Linked DNA regions of Homo sapiens: region 2 is linked to region 1. The links are contacts of gene promoters, found by promoter capture Hi-C in human tissues and cell types (Jung and others, 2019). All regions are on one chromosome and are shown on one strand. The core of a region is centred on a gene start or on the middle of the fragment in contact, and the rest is flanking DNA. Distances in the headings are between cores, read along the strand shown. Region 1 holds the start of LY6H (lymphocyte antigen 6 family member H). Region 2 has its middle 30 kb from the start of LY6L.

Region 1 (7,168 bases), core at 2,941-5,440:
GACTTAATCCTTGCCTGCCACAGCCTTAGGTCTTATTTATAATTTGGAATATCATTGCCACAAAGAGTGCATCCCATCAGTTTCATAATCTTTATTTTAACACTTTATAGATCTACATCTATCTAATATTTTTATTTTTAAATTATTTATTTATTTATTTATTTTTGAGACAGTCTCACTCTGTCGCCCAGGCTGAAGTGCAGTGGCGTGATCTTGGCTCACTGCAACCTCTGCCTCCCGGGTTCAAGTGATTCTTCTACCTTAGCCTCCCTAGTAGCTGGGATTACAGGTGCACGTGCCACCACACCTGGCTAATTTTTGTATTTTTTGTAGAGACAGGGTTTCGCCATGTTGGCCAGGCTGTTCTTGAACTCCTGACCTCAGGTGATCCCCCCGCCTCAGCCCCACAAAGTACTGGGATTACAGGTGTGAGCCACCGAGCCTGGCTTATATCTATCTAATCTATCTCTCTTTCTCTCTGTCACTTTTTCTTTTTTCCATTCATCTGCTGATGGACACAAGTGGATTCCATGTCTTGGCTGTTAGGAATAATGCTGCAATGGATATGGGCATGCAGGCCTCTCTTCAAGATACTGATTTCTATTTATCTGGCTATATACCCAGAACTGGAAGTGCTGGGTGGCAAGGTAGCTCCATGTTCAATTGTTTCAGGAACTTCCATACTGCTTTTCCTAATGGCTGCACTAATTTACATTCCCACCAACAGTGCACAACGGTTCTCTTCTCCACATCCTCACCAAAAATTGTTATCTCTGTCTTTTTGATGGCAGGCATTCTAATAGGCAGGAGGTGATCTCTCCTTGTGATTTTAATTTGCATTTCCCTGATGATTATAATGCTGAACATTTTTCCATACACCTGATGGCATTGTATGCCCTCTTTTGAGAAAGGTTTATTCTGCTTCTGGCTCATTTTTTAATTGGCCTATTTGTTTTCCTGCTATTGAGTTGTTTTCTAAACTTTTAATTTTCTGAAAATTCTATTTTACACTTATTTTTGGAAAATATATCAAGTTCTTAGTGACAGTTATTTCCCTCTGAGCCCTTTACAGATCCGATTTTCCTCTCCTTTGGCTGTCACTGGGGCTCCTGGAATTCTGCTGGCAATCTTATTGCTGTTTCCTGGGAGCTGATCTTCCTTTTCTTTTTGGCTGGCTTAAAGGTCTTCTGCAATTTCACTCTGTCATCTAAACTTTATTTTTCTTTATTCTATTTAGTCCATGTTGTGCCTCTCTGTGCATACTTATTTTTTATCAGTTCTGAAATATTCTCAGGCATAACTTCTTCAATGATTGACTCTCTTTCCTTTGAGATTTCAACCAGACTTCCATAAGCTCTCTGCACACCATCTTTTTGTTTTATTTTATTTTAGTTTTTTCTTTTCTTCTTTTCTTGCTCAGACTTAAGTGGGCATCAGGAAAACACCATCTTTTATGTTTCTTATTTTCCCTATTTTCTATTTCCTTATCCTTTGTGCTACATTCTTGGTAATTTTTTAAAGATTTATCTTCTAGTTTATGAATTCCCTCTTCAGTTGTGTTTAATTTGCTGCGTAATCTGTTTGCTGAGTATTTTTTTAAACACCTTTATTGAGATATCATTCACATACCATAGCATTTACCCTTTTAAATATACAAGCCAGGGGTCTGTAGTATATTCATAGAGTTGTGTGACCATAATCACTATTTTTAGAACATTTTCATCACTCCTAAATGAGTGCTTTTATCACTTTATTTATTAGTAGTGCCTATTACCAGTCCCTAAGGAGGACTGATTCCCCTATCCCACCCTTCTAGCACAAGGCAACCACTAAGCTACCTTCTGTCTCTCTTGGATTGTTTATTCCGGACATTTCATAAAAAGAAAACCACACAATGTGTTTTCTTGTGACTGGCTTCTTTCAGTTACCGTAATTCTTTCAAGGTTTCTGCTGACCTTTTCATTTCAATGAAAAGTTTTTCATTTCTAGAGGTTCTATTTTTTTCTGATAAGCATGGTGATTGGTTTCATAGTGCTTTGTTCCTTATTTTAATATATCTTAAGCATAACAAATAGGTTAATTTTATATCCTATATTTGATATTTTCCATTTAGAAAGTTTGTGGTGATTTAAATCTGTTGCTCGTCACTGTCAGCTGAGTCTCACTTGGAGGCTTGCTTTCTTTAGACATGTGCTGATTTTTCATTTTGAACTCATATTTGATTCAGTTAAATCTGTGGGAACCTCAGTCCCTAAGTTGGGGCTTGCTTTCTCCAGAGTATTCATCGTTGGTTTTGCTTTTGCAAGCAGGGATGCTACTGACCTGGGACCACCCTGGCTCCCCGGAGGGCTCTGTGTGGGTGCCAAGTGGAGGGTGCAGGAGAAAGCATCCCTCGGGGCAGCCCTCAATCAATGACTCTTGGGTGTCGCTGTGAAATACCTGTTCCCTCATCCCTTGGGTGAGTTCACCTGAGGCTCACAGTTTACACCACTTCCCAGAGTACCTCTCTGGGGTCAGGCTCCATTTCCCCACTGCGGGGGGTTGCTGAGTACCACATGCTTGCCAGCCTCCTTCCCCACCCTGGACCACTTCCCCACTCCCCAGGGCTGCTATCCCCACCTCCAACCAAAGGGCTTGCTCTGGAATCCCTGCCTCAGGCTCTGCTTCCGGGACCTCAGACCCCGTGGGGGTCCAGGTCTGCCCAGGACCACTGTGAGTTTCACATCTGCCTCCTGCTCAGTGGGCAGACTTTGGGAGTCCATTATTCTATTTACTTCTTTCTTTATGGACTCAGATTTCTTTTACTTTCTTGCGAGCTCTGTATGTTTTGAAAAGAATTGTGTTTGAACCTTGATCTAGCTCTTGCCCTCTGCACCTTATGAATCTCAACTCCTCATTCAGTTCTCGGCTAAAGTATCAGGTCCTGGGAGAAGCTCTCCCTGACCCTGAGGCAAAGCACGCTCCTGTGGTGGTCTCTTGTCCATCTCGTCCTTGCCTCCACCCCTCTGGAGCCACAATGGAGCGGAGGTGTGCAGTCCCTGTAGCCCAAGCTGCTTGGGTTCCCACTTCAGCTGGGTCACCTGTCACCTGCGTCACTGTGTGACCCCGAGCAGGGAGCGCCGCCTTTCCGTGTGAGTCTCCTCATCTGTGAGATGGAAATGATACTATCTGCACAGCAGGGCTGTGGTGAGACTATAAGGAGATAATAAATATGAAGTGTCTAGAACAGGTGGAATCCATAGTACATGCTCAATAAATGTTAGCTCTGTCACATCCTGCAAAGATATGCTGCAGTAGGCATCACCATTTGTCCAAGGGGAGAGTCAGGAGGGCAGAAACCAGGTCTCTCTCCTCATGCCCTTTCCCAGGGCTCAGGGCAGGGCTAGGGCAGCAGGGAGCATGCAGTAAACATTTTCAGGTCAAATGAAAGGGAGCAGGACCAAAGGCACGATGGCAGATCGGGGCTTCCCCAGTGCCCCGGGGAGGCGGATTTCAGGCACAGGGACACGTGCAAAGGCACAGCTTTTAGGGAGCTGGAGGGCAGGGCGGGAAGGCCAAGGAAGCCGAGAAACGGGTCCAAGGCTCGGATGCTCTGGCCAGGATTTGTACCTTTACCTCCGAGTGTGGGAGTATTTGGCGACAGAAGCCCCTGGGGCTGCGGCTTCTGGTGGGGGTCTTCATGGATGCTCAGGGGAGGAGAACGGCCTGGAGCCACTGGAAACGGGGAAACGGGGAAACGGGTATGAGGTTGGGGAGGGGCGGGGAGGAGGGGGAGGGCGGGGCCCCAGGGCGGGAGTCTGACCCCAGGGGTCTGCGAACCCGGACCTGCGCGTGGCGCCGCGCCGGGTACCTCCCCCTCTCTGCGTCTTTGTGCATTTTGCTTCCTTTCGCAGTAAACGTTCTTCCGAGAAATTCCAAGGGGATCTCAGCCAAGCAGAGGGGGAAGGGATCCTGCCCACGCCTGGGTAGGGGGCCGCGGAGGCTGGGGAGGAGCAGGGGGCGCCGCGAGGGAGGGAGCGGGAACCCGAGGGAGCGCGCGCGCCAGCAAGGGGGCGCGGAGGGCCCGGGCCAGCTACCTGCGTGGGGGCCGCGAGCCCCGGGCGCCCCCCGCCCCGCGCGTCTCCCAGCCGCCCCCGCCCCCCGCGCGGCCCCCGCCCCGGCTCCGCCCCGCCCCTCGCGCGGGGTCCGCGTCTGCGGCTGCGTTCCCCGAAAGACGAGGCTGCGCCCGGATTCCGGTCCGCAGGGAGACCGAAGGGCACAGCTCCCCGCGCCGCGCACGCCGCCCGAGCCCGGAGTGCGGACACCCCCGGGATGTGAGTGAGCCCCCCGACCCCGAGGCCCGCGCTCCACGCCCCATCCGCGGTGAGCGCCGAGGCGCGCGCGGAAGGCCAAGGGAGGGGACTCGGCCCGGGGTTCCCGGCCCCCCAGCCCAGGGGTGGGGGTGGGGACCTGGCACGCGCCCCTCCCCCCAGTGGCAGGTCCCACCCGCTCCCGCCCCTGCCGCTCATTCCTGTCCGGACGCACCTGCAGCTCCCCGGGGAGAAGAGGACGCCCCCCATCCGCTCCCCCACACAGGTGCCGGCGCGGGGCGGAGGCGTCTCGAGCTGTCACCTCGCCCCAGAGGCCAGACGTCTCCCGGCGGGGATGCTGTGACGGCGGACGCTCTGGAGAAGGGGCTGGGGGTGGGGCTCTGCGAGCTCCGGGCGGACCCCGGCCTTGGATTCCGGGGAGAAGGTTGCATCCTGAGGCTGGGAAAGGAGAGGGTCTTTGGGGTCTCCTGACCGATGCTTCTCCCCTCCAGGCTTGCGCCCCAGAGGACCCGCGCCCCAAGCCCCCGCGCCGCCCCCAGGCCCACCCGGAGCATGCTGCCTGCAGCCATGAAGGGCCTCGGCCTGGCGCTGCTGGCCGTCCTGCTGTGCTCGGCGCCCGGTGAGTAGGGGGCCCGCGGGCTGGGTCAGGTGCCTGGGAGAGCCCGAGGCGCCGCGGGAGAGCCGGGTGTGGGGCTGCCACCCTCTGACGGTTCCCACCGCACTTCGCATAGAGCCCACGCCCCCTCCGGGACCCCTGCGACCCCAGCCCGGCCCTCGGCCCCTCTGCCCCGGCACTGGGCTCTCTCCAGCGCTCTTCCTCCAGGGCCTGGAACTGGTGGGCGGCTGGCCCCGCACGGAAGCCCTTGGTCATCCGTCACCTCTGAGAGCCTCCCGGGCCTCCTTTCAAATCCAGTTTGGTCCTTCACAGCTTGGAACCCACGGACCTCTGGGGGGGATATGTGAGGCGGGGCGGGAGTGTGAGGGGGGCACTGTCGGTGTGGGGTCTGTATAGCCCGTGTGTGTGTTTGTGTGTGTGTGTGCACGCACGTGCATGGGGGCCAGGGAGGGGCCATAGGGGCTCCCCTCAAACTGCCAGGATGGGGCACAGTTGTCCCAGGGCCTCTGCTCCCCCTCCAGGGGTCATGGGGGCCTGCTCCCTCCCGTGGGGTCGGGCTCTCCCAGGAGTGCCTGCAGCAGGGGGATGGGTGGGGGGCGCAGGGGGCTGCCTGGTTTGGACCCCAGTGCCTCTGGTCACCCTCCTCCCCATGCCCTGCCCAGCTCATGGCCTGTGGTGCCAGGACTGCACCCTGACCACCAACTCCAGCCATTGCACCCCAAAGCAGTGCCAGCCGTCCGACACGGTGTGTGCCAGTGTCCGAATCACCGATCCCAGCAGCAGTAAGTTGGGACTTAGGGTGGTGGGGAATGTGCTAAAAGCCAGGCTCTTGAGAGAGGTCAGAGGTGTCCTCGGAGCCCCTCTGGCCTGGGACGAGAGTGAGAGCGTGGGGCGGCAGGCAGGATACTGTCCTGCTGTCCCCCCCTGGCTCCTTGGTGGCCCTTTTCATCTAGTTGAGGCCAGCGTGGGAGGGTGGAGGGACTCGGCCCTGCCTACTGGGGCCCCGAGCTGACCCGGAGGGGCCTGGGCTGGGTCCTCGGGATGAGGCAGAGAGGGCCCAGGAGGAGCCCCCGTCCCAGGCCACGCTTTCTCTTCCCAGGCAGGAAGGATCACTCGGTGAACAAGATGTGTGCCTCCTCCTGTGACTTCGTTAAGCGACACTTTTTCTCAGACTATCTGATGGGGTTTATTAACTCTGGGATCTTAAAGGTCGACGTGGACTGCTGCGAGAAGGATTTGTGCAATGGGGCGGCAGGGGCAGGGCACAGCCCCTGGGCCCTGGCCGGGGGGCTCCTGCTCAGCCTGGGGCCTGCCCTCCTCTGGGCTGGGCCCTGATGTCTCCTCCTTCCCACGGGGCTTCTGAGCTTGCTCCCCTGAGCCTGTGGCTGCCCTCTCCCCAGCCTGGCGTGGCTGGGGCTGGGGGCAGCCTTGGCCCAGCTCCGTGGCTGTGGCCTGTGGCTCTCACTCCTCCCCCGACGTGAAGCCTCCCTGTCTCTCCGCCAGCTCTGAGTCCCAGGCAGCTGGACATCTCCAGGAAACCAGGCCATCTGGGCAGGAGGCCTGGGGATGAGGGTGGGGGGGGACCCCCAGGTCCCGGAGGGGAAGTGAAGCAACAGCCCAGCTGGAAGGGCGTCTTCTGCGGAGAAATAAAGTCACTTTTGAGTCCTGAGACCCGGGTCTGAGCCTGGGTGTCGGGGGCGGGAAAGGGTTCCTGGCAGAGAGCTGGGAATGAGGTGCTGAGGGAGCGGAGGGGCTGGGGGCAGGGCGGGCGCTCAGCCAGGATCTTGGGCTCTTGGGCTCAGGGCACTGGGGTGCTGGGTGGTTGTGCTGGGGCTGCTTGGTCCTGGTGAGGTTTAGGAGCACTTGGGGTGATGGGGTGAGAGCTGAGATGAGCAAGATCACAGGGTGGGCTTGGGGGGAGGTACCGGAATCCTGTGAGCACACCACAGACACCAGACACGCCCACAAACAGTGGTGCCCACGCAGCCAGCATGTGCACACACACTCATGCCCAGACAAGCATACAAACGGTGCCCACGCAGCCAGCATGTGCACACACACCCGTGCCCGCCCTGCTCCTTCACACACACACACCCCAGGTGCCCCGCGCACACGTGCTGGGGCATGCACATAACTGGCACAAACTGGCGTGTCCCAGTGCACGTGCCCACACCCACACGTGCATGCCCATGTCTGTGCACACCCACCCTTGTACACTCAGCGTGCAGTGCACACGGTGCCC
Region 2 (7,168 bases), core at 2,713-5,212, 50 kb after region 1:
ATGGGAACAGGGTTAGGTAGAAGGCATGGTGAGATCGTGAAGGAGGAGCCACGTCCCGCTCCTATTCTATCTCATATATGTTTACATGGGTCATGCGTATGTGACCGGTCACTACCAGATTGTATGAAAGAACTCTAATGGGCTTAAAGGAAATTTAAACACTTAAATATCTTATCAGGATAATAGAAGCTAGCTCAAATGCCTTTTAGTTCATGTGACTTTGGTAATCTTTGGTAAGTAAAACTAGTTTCAAAATTCTCTTTATAAAATCTAAAAGTCATGCTAAATTAAGACTAGGATTTTCTAGAAATAAGGGGTTACTAAGTTACAGTAATAGTTTATATATGTAATTAAAACTGCTAGATATAGGCAAAACTATTCTACATACAGAGTGTATGAAAAGTAAGATGTGGGTTTTTCTTTTTTCCTTTTCTTTTTTTTTTTTGAGACTGAGTCTCGTTCTCTCCCCCAGGCTGGAGTGCAATGGCACGATCTTGGCTCACTGCAACCTCTGTCTCCCGGGTTCAAGTGATTCTCCTGCCTCAGCCTCCTGAGTAGCTGGGATTACAGTCGCCCGCCACCACACCCGGCTAATTTTTATATTTTAGTAGAGATGGGTTTCACCACGTTGGCCAGGCTGGTCTCAAACTCTTGACCTTGAGTTATGTGCCCGTCTCGCCTCCCAAAGTGCTGGGATTGTAGGCGTGAGCCACTGCGCCCGGCCATAATGTAAGATGTGTTTTTAGCAAAGGTTATAAAAATCATAAAGATATGGTTTCTGCTTAAAGGAAAAGTACTCTTGTCTAGTTTGGAAGCTATTTACAGGTTGTTTTGGAATCAAGGAAAGATGACATGGATGAGAGTAAATGGATAGAAAGAGGAAGAATAAAGGGCTGGGCAACAAGAAGCCCTTGATTCCTTAGCGGCCACACGTCATCCCTGGTCTGGAGCTGCAGCTGTGCCATCCTCAGCTGCTAAAGGGGAAAGCTACTGGTAGAATTAGAGATGGCACAAACCCTTGGGGAGTTGGTTCAGTGGATGCATAAGAAGATGCAGACTAATAAGCAAAAAGCAAAACATTCAATCCCTTGGTTACTGCTATCTGCAGTAGCTAAAATGAAAGTGTAAGAGAGTGCTGGGTTGGGCCTGGACCATGCTCAGTTGTGGGTCTGTCTGAGCTCAGGCCATTAGCCTCAAAACTACCCACAAAGGGGAAATGATGCCAGGGATGAAAGAAAGCACCCTGAGACCTGTGGTTACCAAGATGGTAGTAAGGGCAAAATCAAGTAGCACTGAAGCCAGAGGACGTGATGTGGGGCAATTGCTTCGTTTTGTAGATTCGCTTCCTGAGGAACTTCTACCAAAATAAATTATGAGAATGACTAATTTGGGAACAGTGTTTTTGGTTTTAAATGTGTAACTGAGCAGCTTGGCTTCAAACCATGTTTTAAAACTTTGTTTTTTCTCCTTTCTTCCCAATCTCAAGATATAACTTTGAGTCAAGCTGCATACGGGTTTCCTTTCATCTTGAAACATAGCCTGGGAATGTGCTGTGGCCTCCCCTCCCCTTCTTTTTCTATTCCATGCTGTCACACCTTACACACACTTATTTACCTGGATGCTTGTTAAGCTCACACCATGCTCACTTCTCTGGTGATGTATTTCCTTAGAAGTTTCAGGGGCCGGATCCTGCTATGGACCAGACACTTCCAGCCACGATGGCCCTGGCCCCTTCACCAGATGGAACAATAATTCGAGATGAGCCATGGGACTGGTTCCTGCCACCCGACACCTCCTCATCACCTGCCTCTTCTGCATTCCAAACCCTCTCTTTAAAATCCCCTGCGTTCCCTCCACAAATGGAAGAGTGGAATTGCTTTGTGCTCATCCCTTTGCTGGTACGGATAATAAAGTCTCACTCTCTTTCTATCACACCTCATTATTATTTTGGCTTCTTTCTACAAGTGGTGAGCAGCCTCACCCTTCTGCTGGTCACAAGTGCAGCAGAATGGAAGAGCACGTGTGGGCTGATGTGAGACCCACAGCTCACTGCTGAACAATGGCAGATGAGTGTGTGTGATCCAGACGCACAGATTATTCCTGAGGGAACGGCCAGCCTGGTGGGCTGGATAAAAGGCACTGTAAGAGAAGGGGACCACCCAACTTTCCCCATAAACGCCAAGTGGAGCACCCCCGATGAAGCAGCTGATGTGCTTCGTAAGCAAGCCATGTGGGACTGACTTTATGATGACCGGGATATTCACGGCTGAGTATGCCCAGATCATGGTAAATGCTGTGGTTAAGGGGGCCCATTGGCCTGGGCACCTCATTGGGTCTCAACTTCCCCTCATGGGTCATCCAGATGCTTATAAAAACTTTAGGCTAATTAATAAAATTATTGGGAAAGGCAAAAGGGAGTCCAAGGACTCATCCTAGGAAGGGGAAAATTTTTAAACGATTAGTTTTAAATAGGTAAAAAATGGGCCAGGCCTGGTGGCTCACGCCTGTAATCTCAGCACTTTGAGGGGCAGAGGTGGGCAGACCACCTGAGATCAGGAGTTCGAGACTGGCCTGGCCAACATGGCGAAACCTCATCTCTACTAAAAATACAAAAATTAGCCAGGTGTGGTGGCGCGCACCTGTAATCCCAGCTACTCAGGAGACTGAGGGAGGAGAATTGCAGTGAGTCAAGACTGCCACTGCACTCCAGCCTGGGTGGCAGAGTAAGACTCCATCTCAAAAAAAAGGTAAAAAGTGGATGGGGTGAAACCAAGAGGAAAAAGGAAAGGAGAGAGTCATGGGGTGCATCCTAGCGGGGTGGAATCTGTACATGGTTGTTAAGCAATGGAATGAATAATGGGGGGTTATTCACAAAGGTCTTAATACAACACTATCGAAAGTTGGGTGAACAAAGGGAGCCCCCGCTGGTCCCTCAACAGTAAAGAGCTCCAAAACAGTTTTTGCCAGATTGGAGAAGGCACTCTAACTATAAAAATTGGAAGGCAAAAGTTACACTGAGCAAACTGACCAACAATTGCGGGGGCCAATGTTGAGGTGGGTTAATCAAGATAAGATTGACAGAAGGGCCAGGGTCCCTTGGATCAAGCCCCTGTGGGGCACCCACATCCTTTTTCACAAGAGAGGGTAAAATGGTCTGGAGGTGGGAAAAAGAAGTTCCTGGGAGCAGAACAGAAAGACGTCGAGTTATGAAAGTCGACTTGTGTGATAGAGTTATGAAAGCCGAGATGTTTAAACAGGCTTTATGTAAGGCATTACATATCCTTTACCTAAATGCTTTATGAAAATGGATATTGAAGCTGGTACAGTGGTTCACACCTGTAATCCTAGCACTTTGGGAGGCCGAGGTGGGCGGATCACTTGGGGTTAGGAGTTCAAGACCACCCTGACCAACATGATGAAACCCCATCTATACTAAAAATACAAAAATTAGCCGGGCATGGTGGCATGCACCTGTAGTCCCAGCTATTGGGGAGGCTGAGGCAGGAGAATTGCTTGAACCCAAGAGGCAGAGGCTGCAGTGAGCCGAGATTGTGCCATTGCACTCCAGCCTGGGCAATAGAGACTCAGGAAAAAAAAAAAAAAGGAAAATGGAAAATGGATATTGTACGTGGACTGGGGAAACCCCTACCTACTACTGCAAAAGTAAAGGCATGAAAAAATCAACGAAAAGAGTCAAACTGTAAAATATTGGAAGAGATTTATTCTGAGCCAAATATGAGAGACTGTGGCCCATGACACGGCCTCAGGAGACCGTGAGAACAAGTGCCCAAGGTGTTTGGGCCACAACTTGGTTTTATAAATTTTAGGGAGCCATGAGACACCAATCAATACAGGGAAGACATACATTTGTTCGATCAGGAAAGGTGGGACAACTTGAAACAGGGACTTCCAGGTCATAGGTAGATTCAAAGATTTACTGATTGGCAATTGGTTGAAGGAGTTACTATCTAAAGACCTGGAATCAAAAGAAGGAATGTCTGGGTTAATGAGGGATTGTGGTGACCAAGTTCCTATTACACAGAGAAAGCCTCCAGGTAGCTTCAGAGAGAACAGATTGTAAATGTTTCTTACCAGAGTTGATTCTCTCTTGAATCAGGGAAAAGTCCTGAAAAAGGAAAAGGATTCTCTTCAGAATGCAGCTTTTCCCCACAAGAGAAAGCTTTGCAAGGCTATTTCAAGACATGGCAAAGAAACACAATTTGCGGTAAAATACTTCAATTTCATTCAGTGAATCCTTCGCTTGGCTTCCTACCCTTGAGGCTTTTAATAAGTTGAGTCCAAAATTCCCTAAAAAAGTTCCAGCAAAGCCAACTTAAAAAGAGCCGACCAGCTTAGGCAACATGCTGAGACCCTGTCTCTACAAAACATAAAAAATGAGCTGGGTGTGGTGGGGTGTGCCAAGGGTCCCAGCTACTCGGGAGGCTGAGGCAGGAGGAGTGTTTGAGCCTGAGAGGCTGAGGCTGCAGTGAGCTCTGATTGCACCATTGTACTCCAGCATGGCTGACAGAGCAAGCCCCTGTCACAGGGAAAAAAAAAAAAAAAAAAAGCCTCTAGGGCTGGTAACTATTCTTGCCACGCTTCATGCAAATAGGCCAAGTATAATGAGACCGAAATTTATTTTGCAAATAAACTGGTCCTACTATGATTTATCCTTGGTAGAAATGGGGAAACTAGAGAGAGAAAAATTTAGATCCTAGCTCTGACCGTTGTTTTTGAGTTATTATTTGCTTACAATTTGGGCTAATCCTGAATCATTCACTGGCTACAAGTCTCTAAAGAAAAACCGGGTTTTAGTTTCCTTCACGATGCTTTTAGTCGGCTTCTTAATGAAATAGGTTCTTTTTTGTTACTGTTCTGAAATACAAATTCCCTTTTGATTGTCATCCTTGTGTGCAAATTATTAATGTTATGTATCTCTTGTTGTTTTATTTTCTCTGAGAAAACAGAAGTCGTGGTATCCTGAAGACTAGAGATGATTCAACAGCCGGTGACCCTCCCTCACTGGGACTCTCACCGGGCCCGACCTGTTTTCCGACGCCAAGGCACCGCTGCTGAAGCCAGACAACCCCAAGCACCCTCCCTAAGGCTCAGGGACCATCGCGGAAGAGGAGGGCAGGTGAGACGGTCAGAGCTGGATTAGTGGGGCGGCGCGGGCGGATCATGGAGGCCGAAGCCGCTCCATCTTGGACGCTAGTTTGTCGTGTTGGCTTCTGATTAACCTCAGTTCCGGGAATGCCTCTGAGAGTTCCCGTTCATCTGTTGTTCCTTGTGTAAGAGCACATCCTTATCACAAGTCCTGGCCTTAGGGAAATTCCTGCCCACCCCCTCTGAGGCATGTCCCCTGCACTATGGCAATAGAAGCCCTGGGCCTGGGTGGTGACGGCGCAGGGAGCCGCCATCTTGACTCACCGTAGCCTGAGACTGACATGGCTTCTGTTTCTAAGTCCCTATTAAATGTTTCTTTTTAAGAACTGAATTTGTGGGCCAGGCGCGGTGGCTCACGCCTGTAATCTCAGCACTTTGGGAGACCGAGGTGGGCATTTCACGAGGTCAGGAGATCGAGACCATCCTGGCTAACCCGGTGAAACCCCGTCTCTACTAAAAATACAAAAAATTAGCCGGGCGTGGTGGCGGGCGCCTGTAGTTCCAGCTACTCGGGAGGCTGAGGCAGGAGAATGGCGTGAACCCGGGAAGCGGAGCTTGCAGTGAGCCGAGATGGCGCCACTGCACTCCAGCCTGGGCGACAGAGCAAGACTCTGCCTCAAAAGAAAAAAAAAAAAAAAGATGTGAATTTGTCAGCCTCTTTCTTTGGCCTGTCAGCTTCCTTGGACTTTGAGGTAGATGTGTTTGGACTTGTTCACTGTGAGACAGTGGCTGAATAGTGTTCTTCTGTATACACTTAAACATTCTGTTTATCCGTCATTTGTTGAGGGATATTTGGGTTGCTTCTACCATTTGGTACTTGTGAATATTGCTGCATATATTAGGCTGTTCTTTTGTTGCTGTAAAGAAATACCTGAGACTGGTATTTGTGTTTGTCTCGCAGTTCTGCAGGCTGGACAGTAAGCATGGCACTGGCATTGGCTTGCGGAGGCTTCTCAGGAGGCCTCGGAGAGCTTTTATTGATGGTGGAAGTGAGAGATGGCGCGTCCCATGATGGGAGCAGGAGGAACATAGTGGGGGGAGACGCCGCACACTTTTAAACAGCCACATCTCCCGGGAGCTCACTGTGAGAAAGCACTCATTAGCAAGGGGTGGCAGCAAGGCATCCGTGAAGGGTCCACCCCCATGATCCAGTCACTTCCCACCCCCTCCAACACTGGGGATCATTTCCACATGATATTTAGAGGAAAAAACATCCAAACCATATCAGCTGCTATGAACATTCATGGACAAGTTTTTGTTTGAATGCCTGTTTTCAGTCCCGTTGGGTATATACCTAGGAGTGCCCTTGCTGTGTTGCACAGGACTTGCACGTTTACTTTTATAAGAAACTGTTTCCAGTGGCTGCGGCATTTTATATTCCCACCAGCAGGGTCTGAGAGTTCCAATCTCCTCATCTTCTCACCAGCACTTGTTATTTTCTGTAGTTTTGACGATGACCATCCTAGTGGGTGTGAAGAGGTATCTATCTCATTGTGGTTTTGGTTTTCATTTTCCTCATGACTAGGACTTACAGCATTTGATACATGACACGTGCAGATGCACCTGATACGTGACACGCGTGGATGGACCTGACACGTGCAGATGCACCTGATATGTGACACGTGCAGATAGATGCACCTGATACATGACACGTGTGGATGCATCTGATATGTGACACGCGTGGATGCACCTCGGAAGCCTGGCACCAAAGGCCGCATGCTGTATGGTTCCATTCATATGAAATGTCCAGAACAGACAAGTCCAAGAGACAGAAAGTGGTTGCTTAGGGGCTGGGGGAGGAAAAAATGGGGAGTGACTGCTTAGTGGGGCATGGGGTTTCCATCTGGAGTGATGAGAAGGTTCTGGAACAAGATGGTGGTCATGGTCACACATTATAAGTGTACTTAATGCCACTGAATTGTACACTTTAAAATGATAAAAATGGTAAATTTTTAAAAATAATTTTACTTTAAGTTCAGGGATACAAGTGCAGAATGTGCAG

The links. The method cuts DNA at HindIII sites, captures the fragments that hold promoters and counts their contacts. A contact is called where the count stands out against the background at its distance.
Region 2: a contact is called between a fragment that was not itself captured here and the fragment with the promoter of LY6H in region 1, in 1 of the 25 tissues and cell types used here (dorsolateral prefrontal cortex).

Annotation. Positions count from the first base shown.
Region 1 is chr8:143,157,343-143,164,510 of GRCh38, reverse strand. It overlaps LY6H (lymphocyte antigen 6 family member H), which reads left to right and starts at 4,190. Exons shown (of 4, transcript NM_001135655.2): 1 at 4,190-4,313; 2 at 4,802-4,929; 3 at 5,589-5,708; 4 at 6,026-6,595. The coding sequence starts at 4,312. The coding sequence ends at 6,261. LOC124902035 (a long non-coding RNA gene) reads right to left here and starts at 4,642. Exons shown (of 2, transcript XR_007061136.1): 1 at 4,525-4,642; 2 at 1,590-3,714. The HindIII fragment of the contact is 31,387 bases long and covers 1-7,168 here.
Region 2 is chr8:143,106,954-143,114,121 of GRCh38, reverse strand. No RefSeq gene overlaps it. Among named protein-coding and RNA genes, the nearest start is that of LY6L, 30 kb to the right of the region's middle. The HindIII fragment of the contact is 5,687 bases long and covers 1,119-6,805 here.